Linked DNA regions of Homo sapiens: regions 1, 2, 3 and 4 are each linked to region 5. Evidence: promoter capture Hi-C in 16 types of primary human blood cells and fetal thymus (Javierre and others, 2016). All regions are on one chromosome and are shown on one strand. The core of a region is centred on a gene start or on the middle of the fragment in contact, and the rest is flanking DNA. Distances in the headings are between cores, read along the strand shown.

Region 1 (2,757 bases), core at 172-2,671, 1.1 Mb after region 5:
GAATCAAAGCAACAGGAGGAGTCTGGTTTGAACGGTTATTTCAACCAAATTACATTAAGGACTGCTAACTGTTTTCTGCCCCACAAAAATACCCTTTGTAAATGTTTCCAAACTATAACACAGGTCCTCCTGGAGCAACGGCTAGATAAATTAACAAACTTTTAGACTTTACGCTCCCCTTTTCCAAACTCCAAGTCGACCACTCCCCATTTGTTAACAGAAACTTACTATAACTGATTAGATTTCTAACCTTTCCTAGGGAGAGCCAGTTCAATTCTAAAAGGGTTGGTCACATGGGTTGCTAAATTAAAATATAAAGCATTTCCTAACAGGGAAGGGAGGCTGGTCAATTGTGGTTATTTTTATCAGTAACTTTAAATATGGATCCATAGATTATCAATTTATGGCTGTCGTGGGTGTTAGAAGATGACCTAATCCCATCCCCATTTTCATTTAAAAAACTGAAACTAAAGCTCTGTAAAATCAAATGATTTAAAATCATCTGACTAGGCCGAGAAAGGATTAGCTCTCTAGAGCATTACGGTAACAATCATTCGCAAACAGGTAGCATTATCTGGCGACCCTGCTTTTCTGGAAATCTTGTCAATTATTCAGTTCCTTAAATTCCGTCAGCTACAACAGATGCATCAGCTCTTTCCACACTAACTTGAAAGAAGCACATTAGAAAATAGTCCTGACTTGTTTCTTGAGATCAGTAACTAATGAACTGACCTCCACCAGTCCTGCCTCAGGTCGTTAATGGTAAAAATTCTGTATGTCAGCCGCGTTTTGAGGCCTGTCCAAGGTGCTTGTGAGTCCCACATGTTGGAGTCGCAGGGCTTTTCAGTACATGCCCTCAGGCAGGCGGCGCAGTCACAGACACTGGTCCCCGGCATTTGGAAACAGGAAAGATGGTCCGAGGGGCCGAGGAGTTTTTCTTGCAACCTTTAAATTACAAGCAAGAAAAACGTGGGTTTTATTTCGGGCACAGGAATAGAATGAATTCTGAAATGGAGAACTAGAGGCCTGCGTGGGGAATGAGGGACAAGCGCGAGAAGAAAGGGAAAGGCCTTTCTCTCTGGTGACGCGCGATCACAAGGCGTTCCCTCTACGTGGACGCTCACCATTGGCGGAGACCGCACTGACGTCCCGGAACTCGCCCTGACGCGAACGGCGGCAAAGGCCCTCTTCCCCTGAAAGCTGGCGAGGCGCGCGCGCTCCCGCGGCACGCCGCGCCTCCGCCCTCCGCCCGCCAACCCGCTGGTCCAGTCCCTCTTCGCGCCCGCTTGGCTCCGCCCCCTTCCCAATTCGCTCCTCCCCCAACAGACTGGCGGCGCGCGGAAAACGCGTCACGTGACGACTGGCCCCGCCTCTTCCTCTCGGTCCCATATTGAACTCGAGTTGGAAGAGGCGAGTCCGGTCTCAAAATGGAGGTAAAACCGCCGCCCGGTCGCCCCCAGCCCGACTCCGGCCGTCGCCGTCGCCGCCGGGGGGAGGAGGTATTAGGGGGAGAGCGGGGGGTTGGTGGGGAATGGCCGGCGTTGGGGGCCTGGTTCGGTGGGAGCGGGGAGGCCGGGTGGACCGGGTCGGCCGTCCCGCGCTCTTGCGTTGAGACAGGCTGTGGGAGGGGGAGGGGAGCGAGAGTTGGAGACCTCCTTGGGGCCCCTCGCCCGCCTCGCCTTCACCTTCGGCTGCACAGGCGGCCCCTTGGAGGCGCGGCTTGGTCGGGGAGGCCTCGGGAGGGAAGCCGGCCTGCCGGCTGCGCGGCCTCCGAAGCGAGGCCGAGGGCGGCATGGCGGGCCCCGGCGGGAGCGGTTGGGAGGAGGTGGTGGGGGAGGGGAGGGGACGAGCAGGCACATCCGGGCGAGCGAGCAAGCGGGCGGCGGCCACATTGACATTGATCCGCCGCCGCGTTACGAAATGGCGCATTGGCCCGCAATGGCCGCCGCCTCGCTCTGCCGCCGGGAAAGCGAGCCTGGGATTGGAGGGAAGAGGGCGGAGGCGGCCCGGCAGAAAAAGCCGCAAATGGCCTCGAAGCATGGGGAGGTAGTGCTTTCGCTGAAGTTCTGCCGACGCTTTTCTAGGCCTTTTACGGGTCCTCTCCGCGAGAAGTCGATAATTGGCCTTTTCTTTTTTTCGCAGCATCCTGTTGGAAATACGAGATTGTTAAAAACTTTGCTGCTTTAAAATACTTCCTGATATATTTTTGCTAAAGTACTTACATTACACTTCTTAAACCGCCATGTGGGCGAAGGACTTAATTTTTGAGAATTTGAGTGTAGATGTGAAAAACAACCCAGCCAGCTCCTTCCCGGCTCCGGCCGCTGAGGAGGGTGGGTGGAGAAGAATTTGAGTATAGTATGTTAAGGAAGAATTTAGAAATGTTTTTTATCTTCATGTTTTCCCATTCTTTGAGTCGGCTCTGGTTGTAGTTTCCTGGAATTTTATTTAGAGGACTGCAACCAGAGTTGAAATTTTCACGTTTTTGCAGTACATTTAATGTGGATCCTAAATATTTTTGTCGATTTCGTTATTGTCAATCGAATACATTTATCCAAGACTTGAAAAGATGAGATTACATGAATTAATGCTTTAGGCTATTAACGTTTTTTTCTAGCATGTGACAATCTCTTCACATTAAACGGTTTAACATCTCTACCTCTAGGAGACACAGGAAGACATTAGAATGTAAATGTGAGCCCCTTATTTAAGAACTTCGGGTGAAGGAAACCTTAATGCATGCATTAAATGACAGTT
Region 2 (2,804 bases), core at 125-2,624, 1.2 Mb after region 5:
ACATACACAAATAGGAGACTATAAGCTTTGTGAGAGCAGAAACCTCAAGGCCATATCTGTTCTCTTTGCCACACTAAGCACAGAGCTTAGCACATACCTGGCATATAGATCCTCATTAAAGATTTGCTCAATGAGGCACATATGAATGATAGTGTTTGAGATTAGGTGGTAGGCACTCATGAAAACTTTCAATATCTTCTTGTATTTTTTGCAAGATAGTCCACAGTTTTGAATCTGCAAAGGAGAAATAAGATTAAGGTTAATGCAGGCCATTTGAAAGTATGCCTTACCTCCTCATGAAATGGTCTGAATCTGATCAAGGGCAATTTTCACATTTGTGATTGTACTTTCCAGTTAAAACTCAATAATTAATTAATCATATTGTGAGTCAATTTGTGGATGATTGAGAACCTTCCCCTGCATAGTTGTTTGGTCATTCCCCAACAAATTCATTCCCTGAAAATGGCTAAAAAAATTAGGCTTGAAGTAAAACTAGATTTGAAGGCAACGACTAAATCTTCTTTATATCTGTATTCCTAGAACACATTCCTAGAATATATTGTGCTTTATAATAAGAGCACAATATATTTTGAACTAGGAAGGAAGAAAAAAGAAAGGGTAGCAAAAAGGAAGAAAAATGAGAGTTAGGAATCTTGGATTTAAGCCTTGGGTTGACAATGTGAATTTGGGCCAGTCATTTCTTCATTTTGTTTCTCAGTTTCCCTTTTTGGAAGCCAGAGGAGTTGACCTAGTTGACCACTAACACACCTCCAGATTCTAATTGCCTGTGGAAGAGAGACTGGGGTCATTCTTGGTATAAACATGCCCATGCTTCCTTTTTTCCACTAGGGGGCACTGTAGTACTAGCGCAGTGGCCTCCATCTTCCAATTTATTCAATTCTGTTGACAGTATTTTTCCTGTTTTAGTCCCCTGGAAAACATTCTTTACCTTTAACTTTCAAACTCAAATTTACACTACAAAGTATGAGATTTAATTTGGTAAGGAAAGCTGGATAAACATAGGAAGAATGTAGTTCAATGATTTATATTGCTTAAAAGAGAAATTAGAATCACAGAGCTATTTGCATAGTTAGGTTATAACACGTTAAGATTTTCTGTGGTCCAAAAGGGGGGCTTTGAAACTCTTTTAAAGGAAAACAAAGTGGAAAAAATTGTAATTACCAGAATAACAAAAACATAAACTTAATAAGTATGTCAAATCTATGTGAAGACAACTATAAAATTGCCAAGGCTTAAACAGAGATATACCATGTTCTTGGATAAGAACACTCGGCATTTAAAAATTTTTTAATTATTCCCCAAATATATTCATAAATATAATACAATTCCAATGGAAATGCCAATGGAATTTTTTTTGAAACTTTACAAAAGAGTTCTGAAGTTCCTTGAGAAAAGTTAAACTGAAAAGAGTCAAGAAAAAAAGACAACCATTTGAGAGGAAGGAGGATTTTAACTGCTAGATTTTTTAAAAAAGATAAAACAGCTGAAATTAAAACAGTAGCATAATGACAGCAAAATAAACAAACAAACCAATAAAACAGTGAGTCCAGAAACAAACCCAAGTATGGTGTCCTGGATGTGTTTGTGTGTCTGGGGTTTGTGTGCTTTGGTATTTGGCATCTCAACACTTTTCCTGTTATAGGAACTGAAAAAAGGCATATCTTCCTCTTCTAGACAGCAAGGACATCAGCACATAACTGAAGTTTGTCCAGTGGGATTCCCACATTGAATCCAGAAGGAGTGATGCAAAGATGCAGAAACCATCAAGCTATCTACTGAGACAGTGATGATGTCAGTAATTCAGGAGAAGAGAATGTCTGGTGGTGGCACTGTCCTTAGTTTCTATTTAGGCTCTTCCTATAACAGTTCTTCACCAAGTTCTGGCAGCATTCTAATCAGACTATTCCTTCAGTGGTCCTTGGCTGATTCATCTGCTGCCAGCCTCCTTTGGCTCCTGTCTGATTTCTGAGCCTGATTTTTAACTTTCCCAAATAACTTTGTATATAGATACTGTTACTCTTTCAGTAAATTCCATTCTATTTAATCTACCTAGAATTGGTTACTAATGCTGGCAAATAGGAATTCTGACTTGTACAGAAACTGGTAATGGGGATTCGGTTACACACAACAGACTTTCAGGGAAATCAGGAGAATCTGGGTATGCAGACTCATTGTGTTTGAAGATAATAAAAACCAATTAATATTCAAAGATGAGACTCTGGAAACCCACAGCTTATAGTAGTAAAATAGCTAATGAAATTAATGCCTGTGAGCATTAGGATTGAGTTGGGTATTAAAGACAAGACCATGGGGGAGAGAATTGCTGTTGTCACAGAACAGTATGAAGGAAATGAGGAATTCAAGAGCTGGGTGCTAAGGCTAGCTGCTTCATTTGAAGACATTAACAAATGAAAATCTCTAAATTCTCATCTTAAAACATGAACTGAAACCCAAGCTGTGAATTTGTTAAAAGAAACTTTTATAGCCCTAGGATGGAGATAGCTATAAACCAATATTTGTTCTTGTTGATTGCTGATTTGCAAATCAGTCGAATTCACCTCCTTACCTGGGGTCTTAGAAGAGCATATGTTAAAGTGCTGATTCCGAAAGAGTAAGATCTTTAAAATTAAAATGCTATATAGGGGAGAATTTGAAGAACGCAGAGATTCCTTGCCCCCAAACTCTCAGCCTTCTTTGCAGCTGAAGCTTTTATTATAAAGCTATTTCTCCTTTGTTTGAAGAGGCTGAAACTCCCTAGTTTGAGGGAGTTACCTTATAGGAGG
Region 3 (2,700 bases), core at 142-2,641, 1.1 Mb after region 5:
CTGAAAGCAAAAAATTACTAACAGACTAAAAGCAACAGAAATTCTAATCTACACTCGCAACTCTTACCCTTGACAGCACAGAAGAGAATATCCCGTCTTACACATTTTGGAATTGCAATTCTGAAACGCTAAATCCAAAGACAAAGCCGCTCTGGGGAAAATAGCAATTGCGCAACAGATCAACAGCTCCAACCTGTCCCTTGGCCCTGGCGCGGCGAGGTTTGCACGCTATAAAGCAGGAAAGGGCCAACCGAGGGCTGCTGTGACGGCCAACCGAGCGCTGTCACGGAAGCCAAGGCCACGCGCGCGGTGAGCGCCACCAGGGGGCACCGCGTCCGAACTAGAAGCCCCGGGTGCCGCCGACTCCGGCCTCAGAGTCCACTGCCCTCGCCCGCACTTTCCCGCGGCGTTACGAGGGGCCAACTCCGGGTGCCCGAGCCCGAACCCCTCCCCGGCCGAGAAAGTGCGCGGGGCCCGGCTCAGCCGCCACACGTCGGGGCTTCTGAGCCCGCTGGGCACTTAAGGCGCTCCTCCCTCGTCCCGGGGCTGGGCTTTCAAGAGAGCTCAAGGCTGCCAGAGAGTGATCCGAGAGATGGATGACTTCGCAAAGCCGCGCCCACAGACGGCCCAGCGGGGTGAGCGCGTCGCAGCCCGCACTCAAGGAGGTCTTGGGGCGCGGCGAAGGGGCTCCGGGTCCCAGCCCGAAGGCGACCTCAGTTCCCCCGAGAGCGGCCCCGTGACTAGGCACATTTTTGCCGGCACCGAGGCGGGGGAGCCGCGCAGCCCCGGAAGGGCCGGGCCGCGCCGGCTCAGACGGCCAGCGTCCGCCCCCTCTTGCCCCGCCGCCCACCGGGCCGCTCAAACTTAGGGGCTCCGGAGTCCCAGCTCTCGGGCCCGGGGACGCGGCTGGATTCTCCCCCAAGGCCCACGCGAGCGGGCTCAGTCCCCAGACCTTCCCGCAACTTCCCACCCGTTCGCCCTCGGGCTCGTGGTCGGTCGGATCACCCGGCCGCGTCCCCGCTGCCCCTCCCCGCCCTGCCCCGGCGCAAGCGCGGCGGCTCTACCCAGCGCCGCGGTCCTGGCTCTGGCCAGACGTGGGGGAAGCCGGTTGCGGCTGTCCCTCCCGGGCCGCGGTTCCCTAGCTCCCCCGCCCCCGTCCCGGCACCACCGCAGGGCCCAGAGGGCCGAGGCAGCACCTGCTGGGACGGGAGTCCCGGCGGCGGCAGCTCCAAGTCCATCATGATGAGCTGTGGACCGTGTGTTGGGGCTCCCCGACGGCGGCCCTGTTCCGGCTGCCGAGGCGCGGCGCGGACAGGGCGGCTCTGGTGGCGGCGGCGGCGGCGGTGGCGGCTGCGTCGGCGGCTCCTCCGGGCTCCCCGGCACTCGGTAATCGGCTACACGCCGGCGGGCCCCTGCCCCGCTCCGCCTCCCGCCCCACAAGGGCGGGGCAAGAGTCCGGGCCCTTCCTTCCCCCGCCGGCCGCGCGGGCTGAGCTTCCGAAAATCCCCCACCCGCGCCGGGGCTGACGCAAGAAGCTCGCGGTCCGGGGGCGGGAAGGGACTGCCAGCTGGGGTCCCAGCAGGCGGGGGACCTAGAGGAGGTCTCCGTTAGCTCCCCGGTGCCGGCGTTCAGTTTGCCCTCCCCCGCAAATAAGGGCAGCGCTCTCGCCCGCGAGATAAAGAGTTGTTTGCGAAGGTCGCTGGAGTTCGGACGCTTTGAAACAGTTTAAACAGTTGGAACAAACACACCCGGAGCCCCGGAAAGGCGTTGGTGTAGGAGCTGCGCCTCCCTGATTTGGAGTTGCAGAACCTTGCCCTGCTTTTATCTCACTTTACCGCCCGAGAATGGCGCCAGCCGGGGTGGGGGGGGCTAAAGATTTGGACCCAGACCGTGCCACTGCCAACTGCCCTCCCGCCCTTGCTCCCTTCCCGGGCTGGGGCCAGTGGGCCCTGCCTAGGGGAGATGTGGACAGCTCCGGCAGCTCGTGTTCGCAGTCACCCTGAACGCCCTCCTCTGAACTCCCACGTGTCTCCATTCTCCTAAGCTCAGGTCGTCAAAGGCAAACGGAGAAGCCCCTTTAGGTCGGAGAGTGGTCAGTATTGCCCACCCAGAGCTGGGAGAAAAACGGGAACCCCAAGAGAACCTCTTCCCACCAAAGCGCAGCCACCACGCCACAGATGGCGCCCTTCAACAGTGTGTAATACCACAACATGCTGTAATCGTTTACTCTTTACAAATTTCTTTTTCACGTACTCACAAAATAGTACAAATTAAAAAAAGTTACAAAAACGTTTGTATAGTATTGGCTCATTTTATAAAAACGTGCCTAGAAAAAAATTGAAGGTTACCAATATATTAAATGCTGTGGAATCAACGATTTTTATGTTTCTCCTTGTTACTTCCAAGTATGCTTTAAATCTGCAGTGCGTATGTTTTATGTCTTACATTAAAAACAATTATTTAAAAATTAATCATTGCCCAGAGAAGACTTCAAGTATTTGAAACGAGGAATATTGTGAACTCTTATAAGGGTTCAAAGAGGATAGATAAATGGTTTAGTTTTGTTTTTTTCTTCCTCTTCTGCATTTACAATCTTTCTAACTCTATACAAGACTGGTTTTCAGTTTCTAGCTTCCTGGAATTATTCAAAACCAGGTGAAGTAGATAATACTGGCAGTGGTTTTGCTATTTCATTCAAAA
Region 4 (2,727 bases), core at 137-2,636, 1.3 Mb after region 5:
TATATTTAACAAATTCCTAATTCTTTCTTGTTTCTACAACTGTACTAAATTATTTTAATAGCTGCAAAAGTATTTTAACATATTGACTAACCATTTCTCTGTTGCTAGACATTTGGACTGTTTTCAATGGTTTGGTATCTCTTCGTATATAAATTTCAGAAGACATTCGGACCTCCTGTAAAGGCCAGGTAATACATATTTTGGGGCTTCTGGGACCACATAAGGTCTCTGTTGCATATTCTTTTAAAAAATTTCTTGTTTTCTTTTAACAACCCTTCTCAAATACAAAAACCATTAGCATGAGGGCTGTGTAAAAACAGGCCACAGACTAGAGCTGGCCCTCCAACAGCAATTTGCTTAGCCCTTAATTGAGAGTTTTTAACCAGTCTGGGCCTCTTTGGAAGTTCACTCTAAAGGCATAATCTCAATTTTAGAAGCTGGCAACACCCAAGAGAGCAATTGTTAGTCTCTAGTCCCATGGATGTGGTGTTCTTCAGATTCCTCTGCCAATATTTTTCTTGTTAGGAAAGCATGATGTGAAAGTGGTGACAGGATGGAGAATGACAATGGCCAGTGTATGTGAGTTTTTGTCTAAGCTAATTCTTATGCAAGACACCGGCTGAAACAGGTGAGGAGCACTTTTCACGTGCTATCTTCCAGAAATGAATTCAATCTGTAAATAACTGAGATGTCTTCACAGCTCTTGGGTAATTTTTGTCTGTAGCAATAAGAAACTTTATCTCTATTAAAGTTAGGAAGGGGTTAGGATCCAGTAATGAATGAAATGAGAACTTAAGTTGCAACTCAGTTTCTGTACTTACTTGTGATCTAGCATTAAACACAGTGCCAGGCACGAAATAGGTGGTGAGAAATAAGAAAATGATAGAGCTATTTGCTCTAATGGTTAGAGGCAATGATGGTCAGCTTTGAGTTACTTTGGTGACCCCGCAGGGAGGAAGAGCACAGGTGGAACATTAGAATCTCTTTCAGGAAAAGGATGCCGCTGGATCCATCAGGTCCAGTAGCACTGCCCATTTCTCCTGCTCCAAGGCATCTGCCCTCGAAAGCCCCCAGGCCACACCCGAGGACACCACCCAGGGTTCTAGGACACCTCGAGGGCGGACGTGGTTTGGCTCTCGGTCCAGCTGGACCGGGCTGGGCCAACCGGGAGTCAGCTCGAACTCACCTGCTTGGCAGGTGCGCGCTTCCCGAGGCGTGACAAGGGAGCGCCGGCGCGGTGGGTGGGGGGCAGAGAATGTGAAGCTCCAGACGCATGGCACCCGCCGCCAAGTCGCCGCGGTGGCTGCCGGGATGCGCCGCAGCGAATGGTCGCGCCGGGCGCCGCTCTGAGTGACCTTTCACCCGCGCCCAGCGGTTCCGGGCGGCAGCACAAGGCGGTAGCCATGGCGGAGGCGGCGGCTGCAGCGGGTGGGACTGGCTTGGGCGCGGGCGCGAGCTACGGGTCTGCAGCGGACCGGGACCGGGACCCGGACCCGGACCGCGCCGGGCGGAGGCTGCGGGTTCTCTCTGGCCATCTGCTGGGCCGGCCCCGGGAGGCTCTGAGTACCAATGAGTGCAAAGCGCGGAGAGCCGCGTCGGCGGCCACGGCAGCGCCCACGGCCACTCCCGCCGCGCAGGAGTCGGGCACCATCCCAAAGAAGCGGTGAGTAGCGGTATGTGGAAGGAGTTAGCGTCGAGGGACCAGGCCGGGCCTGTGCTGCAGGAGGGCACAGGCGAGGTGGGAAGGGAAGTGACACGGGTGGGCGGAAGGCATCCCGGTCCCTGAAAGTAGGGACCCACCTCTCTTTCGAGAGAGTGGACTAGACCCTGGATTCTGTCAGGAAGGGGGCGGGATGGGATGGTGGATTTTGGTCACTATGTGAGGGTAACAGGCTTGAAGAACTCTCGTTGGAGAAGGGTTTAAAGGATTCCTTTTTCCTGAGCTTTTAGTGCCAGGAATTCATTTTTTATCTTGAATTAATACTTTTGGTGCTGAGGTCTTGGAATGGGTAGCAGAGGTTCTATTTTTCTCCGAGGAGATATAAATTTGTACTAGATGATAGATCATAGGAATCTCTCTCATTCGCGAAAGCCTGCTGTGGGGGAAACTGGTGGTGCCCTGGAAAAAGGTGCTGACTGGTTTCTGTGGGGTAAGTTCCACTTGCTTAGGATCAAGATGTATTGACTTTGAGGGAGGAAACCGATGAATGGTAAGAAGCCATAAACTGCAAACACTAGCTAGTGGTTTAAGGTGTGGTGGTATAGCTACTGAGCTCTGTGTAACCAGAAGCTAAAAGACAAGAGTCTAACCGATGAGGGATGTTTGTAAGAGATCTTGACTTTCGATGTTTTTGGAGAAATCTTTTTTTTTTTTTTTGTATTTTTAGTAGAGACAGGGTTTCACCGTGTTAGCCAGGATGGTCTCGATCTCCTCAATCTCTGATGAAGGCTATTAGGAGAAGCTACTTTCTGACGTGTGGCTTTGTCACCGTGGATAAATGGATAAACCGAGAGTGAAAAAAATAAGTAGCTAATGTTTAAAGTGTACTTTTAAGTGTGCCAAAGTGTGCTAAATCCTTTGTTTCTTCCCAAGCTATGAGGTATGTGCGGTTTTCTCCCATTTTACAGATGAATAAATTAAGTCTGCTGGAGTCTTAGCAGATATGCTGTGTGACAGGTTAGAATTTGAAAGCACATCAAATTGACTTCATGGCCAAGTTCCTAAGC
Region 5 (2,700 bases), core at 16-2,515:
ACCTATCCCGAAGGAAACGGGGCTCAGTCACCCAAAGAGCCCACGAGAAAGGCCGAGCAGGAGAGGGGAAAACACACACACACAACAGAGAACCATTGCATTTATTGGACATTGAAACGGGAGCAGAGAGGGAAAGGAAGTGTGTGGGGAGGCGGTTGGTAGGGTAAAGCCAGACAGCTTTGGAGAGAGCTGCTAAAATCGGGAATATTTTGTCGATTCACACTCGACTGGGCCACATGACTCGGGCAACTTTTCTTCATCTCTGCTCACAAACTAGGCTGAGCCTTCTCTTTCTCTGCTTTGGGAAAAATTCGTAACTTTGAGGCCTGCGCGCTCTCTCGGCAGTAATTTCACAGGCTTGGCGGAGGAAGTAGGATCGTTAGCATAAGATGGGCCGCCTGCAGCTGCCTGGAACCGGCGCGATCTGAACGCCGGCTGGGAGGCTCCTGGGGGGAACTTGCGGTCGTCTGCCCTCCGCACTCCTCCGGGAACCGCAGCCGGCCCTGGTTCGCTGCGCGCCGGGGCTGAGACCCGGGAGCCGCGTCCTGCCCGAGGAAATGTCACCCTCCCCAGCGCGAGCCCTTTTTCCCGCCTCAGAACGTTTCTGTCCGCTCTTCTATTTACTCTCTCAGCAAGCCTAATGCCCCCTCCTGCATTCTTCAGCCTCCCCCTGCGCCCAGGGCTGACGTCTATCAAGGGTGAAATGATGGAAACTATATTCATGGGCATGATTTCCATTAAATATCAATTAACCTGAGAGCCTCGGCCAGGCTTGCGGTGCGTCAAGGGTAAATGTACATCTCATTTCCACAGGGCCCGCTCGGCTGGAAAAGAAAGGCTTTGATTTGCTTTGATAACGCCAGGATCTGGGGCCACACTCGCGGCTTTTAATTAAACCACTTCGATATGCCCCAACTCAAATGCACGGTCCGGTCCGTCAACACCTCTTGTCCACGTTCCCTGGGCTGCACCCGCGTGTCCAGAGCTGCAAAAGCCACGGGCAACCTCTGCTTTTGCAGCCAGGGGCTCGGGGAGGCAGTCATTTGCTCCGCAGCCTCCTGGGAGTGGCCTCCTTGGCTCCCCCAAGTCTAAGGCTCCGCCGCGGCCCCTCCCTGCCGGCTGCGATCCGCATTCCCGCGGCCCCGGGGCACACGGAGCCCTTGGCAGTGCGTCTTTATGGGCCCCCTTTAAGGCCGGCGGAGGCATCTCGGGCCGGGCGCGGCGCTCCGTCCGTCGGCCGTAGCGACTGAACTGCGCGCGGATCCCTCCGCGGGGCTCCTCGTCCCCGTCACGCTGACTTTCCGTGCAGTGCTGTGGTGCGAAAATGCCTCGCCGGTGCGCACCGGGTCGGCAGCCTCGGCGGCGGGGGCGAGATTGGCGGGAGGGGGGCGCGGGGGGGGCGCGGTAAGAGGTGGCGGCGGGCAGAGGGTGTTTTTTTTCTTTTCCCTCCAGAGCCGGGGTTTGTAAACCGAGGCCAGAGTGTCCCCGTGGGCCGAGCGCACTTTTTTCTTGTCCGGGTGCGCTCAGTCACTGGTGCCTGAGAGGAAACAGTGGAGGCAGCGGGGCAGGTCGCCTGGGGCGTCGGCGATTATATTGCGGCCGAGCCGGGGCGCGCCGGGAAAGGCCGGGAGGGCGGCGGCGCGCGGGGGCTGGGCGAGGCCCCGCGACCCGCGAGGGAGGCGGCGCGAAGCCGAGGCGGCGGGCGCAAGAGCCGGGCATGAGCGCCCAGTAGCTGAGCGCCCGCGGCTGCCTGGCCTCAGAAGCGACGCGCGAGCGCGGGCGGGCGGCAGCAGCGACGTAGCCCGGCGGTCCCGGCGGCGAGAGCAGCCGCCCCACAGGCCCCCGCGGCAGTGCGGCCGAGTCGAGGCTCGCTCTCTGGCTGCTTAGCGCCGCCCGCCCGCCCGGGGCCGCCGCCGCTGACGCCCCAATGAGTTCGTACTTCGTGAACCCGCTGTACTCCAAGTACAAGGCGGCGGCTGCGGCGGCGGCGGCGGCGGGCGAGGCCATCAATCCCACTTACTACGACTGTCACTTCGCGCCCGAGGTCGGCGGCCGTCACGCCGCCGCCGCAGCAGCCCTGCAGCTCTATGGCAACAGCGCCGCCGGCTTCCCGCACGCGCCCCCGCAGGCGCACGCGCACCCGCACCCGTCCCCGCCGCCCTCCGGGACTGGGTGCGGCGGTAGGGAAGGCCGGGGCCAGGAGTACTTCCACCCCGGCGGGGGCAGCCCGGCCGCTGCCTACCAGGCCGCCCCCCCTCCTCCTCCGCATCCTCCGCCTCCGCCGCCACCTCCCCCCTGCGGCGGGATTGCCTGTCACGGGGAGCCCGCGAAGTTTTACGGATACGATAACTTACAGAGACAGCCGATTTTTACGACCCAGCAAGAGGCCGAGCTGGTACAATATCCTGACTGTAAATCGTCCAGTGGTAATATTGGCGAGGACCCAGACCACTTAAATCAGAGCTCGTCTCCTTCTCAAATGTTTCCGTGGATGAGACCACAAGGTTGGGATGCATTTTTTTTTTAAGAAGGGAGAGGGGGAGAAATCTGCTTTCATCTCACGTTCTGGCTTTAAAACTCCCGTTCCCTCTCCCCCTCCTTTTCCTTCTTGTGTAGCCACAGTGGCTCTTATTCATAAAGTAATACAGACTTTTTTTAAAAAAGTAGGAACCATGTAAAGATGATGGGGACAGAATAATT

The links. Contacts are between HindIII fragments. The CHiCAGO score rates a contact against its expected background, and 5 or more counts as called.
Region 1: the fragment with the promoter of HNRNPA3 here is called in contact with the fragment with the promoter of HOXD8 in region 5 in 2 of 17 cell types (total CD8 T cells and naive CD4 T cells); the score reaches 5.7 in total CD8 T cells.
Region 2: a fragment that was not itself captured here is called in contact with the fragment with the promoter of HOXD8 in region 5 in 1 of 17 cell types (naive CD8 T cells); the score reaches 6.9 in naive CD8 T cells.
Region 3: the fragment with the promoter of NFE2L2 here is called in contact with the fragment with the promoter of HOXD8 in region 5 in 1 of 17 cell types (total CD8 T cells); the score reaches 5.1 in total CD8 T cells.
Region 4: a contact is called between the fragment with the promoter of AGPS here and the fragment with the promoter of HOXD8 in region 5, in 2 of 17 cell types (naive CD8 T cells and total CD8 T cells). The highest score is 8.6, in naive CD8 T cells.

What each region holds. Positions count from the first base shown.
Region 1 is chr2:177,211,373-177,214,129 of GRCh38, forward strand. HNRNPA3 (heterogeneous nuclear ribonucleoprotein A3) reads left to right here and starts at 1,422. Exons shown (of 11, transcript NM_194247.4): 1 at 1,422-1,499. The coding sequence starts at 1,428. MIR4444-1 (microRNA 4444-1) reads left to right here and starts at 1,354; the gene lies at 1,354-1,427. It overlaps LOC105373759 (a long non-coding RNA gene), which reads right to left and starts at 1,039. Exons shown (of 1, transcript NR_157853.1): 1 at 23-1,039. RefSeq lists a silencer at 1,060-1,849 and an enhancer at 1,389-2,060. The HindIII fragment of the contact is 9,993 bases long and covers 1-2,757 here.
Region 2 is chr2:177,334,296-177,337,099 of GRCh38, forward strand. LOC100130691 (Putative uncharacterized protein FLJ44553) reads right to left here. Exons shown (of 9, transcript NR_026966.1): 3 at 98-234. Among named protein-coding and RNA genes, the nearest start is that of MIR6512, 22 kb to the left of the region's middle. The HindIII fragment of the contact is 2,702 bases long and covers 24-2,725 here.
Region 3 is chr2:177,263,336-177,266,035 of GRCh38, forward strand. NFE2L2 (NFE2 like bZIP transcription factor 2) reads right to left here and starts at 1,392. Exons shown (of 5, transcript NM_006164.5): 1 at 1,197-1,392. The coding sequence starts at 1,241. RefSeq lists an enhancer at 1-565 and silencers at 246-405, 666-1,535. The HindIII fragment of the contact is 5,708 bases long and covers 1-2,700 here.
Region 4 is chr2:177,391,387-177,394,113 of GRCh38, forward strand. AGPS (alkylglycerone phosphate synthase) reads left to right here and starts at 1,387. Exons shown (of 20, transcript NM_003659.4): 1 at 1,387-1,663. The coding sequence starts at 1,404. LOC100130691 (Putative uncharacterized protein FLJ44553) reads right to left here and starts at 1,305. Exons shown (of 9, transcript NR_026966.1): 1 at 1,187-1,305. RefSeq lists a silencer at 1,387-1,606. The HindIII fragment of the contact is 4,249 bases long and covers 1-2,727 here.
Region 5 is chr2:176,128,440-176,131,139 of GRCh38, forward strand. HOXD8 (homeobox D8) reads left to right here and starts at 1,266. Exons shown (of 2, transcript NM_019558.4): 1 at 1,266-2,504. The coding sequence starts at 1,928. It overlaps LOC100129455 (a long non-coding RNA gene), which reads right to left and starts at 2,089. Exons shown (of 1, transcript NR_187615.1): 1 at 1-2,089. The HindIII fragment of the contact is 7,912 bases long and covers 1-2,700 here.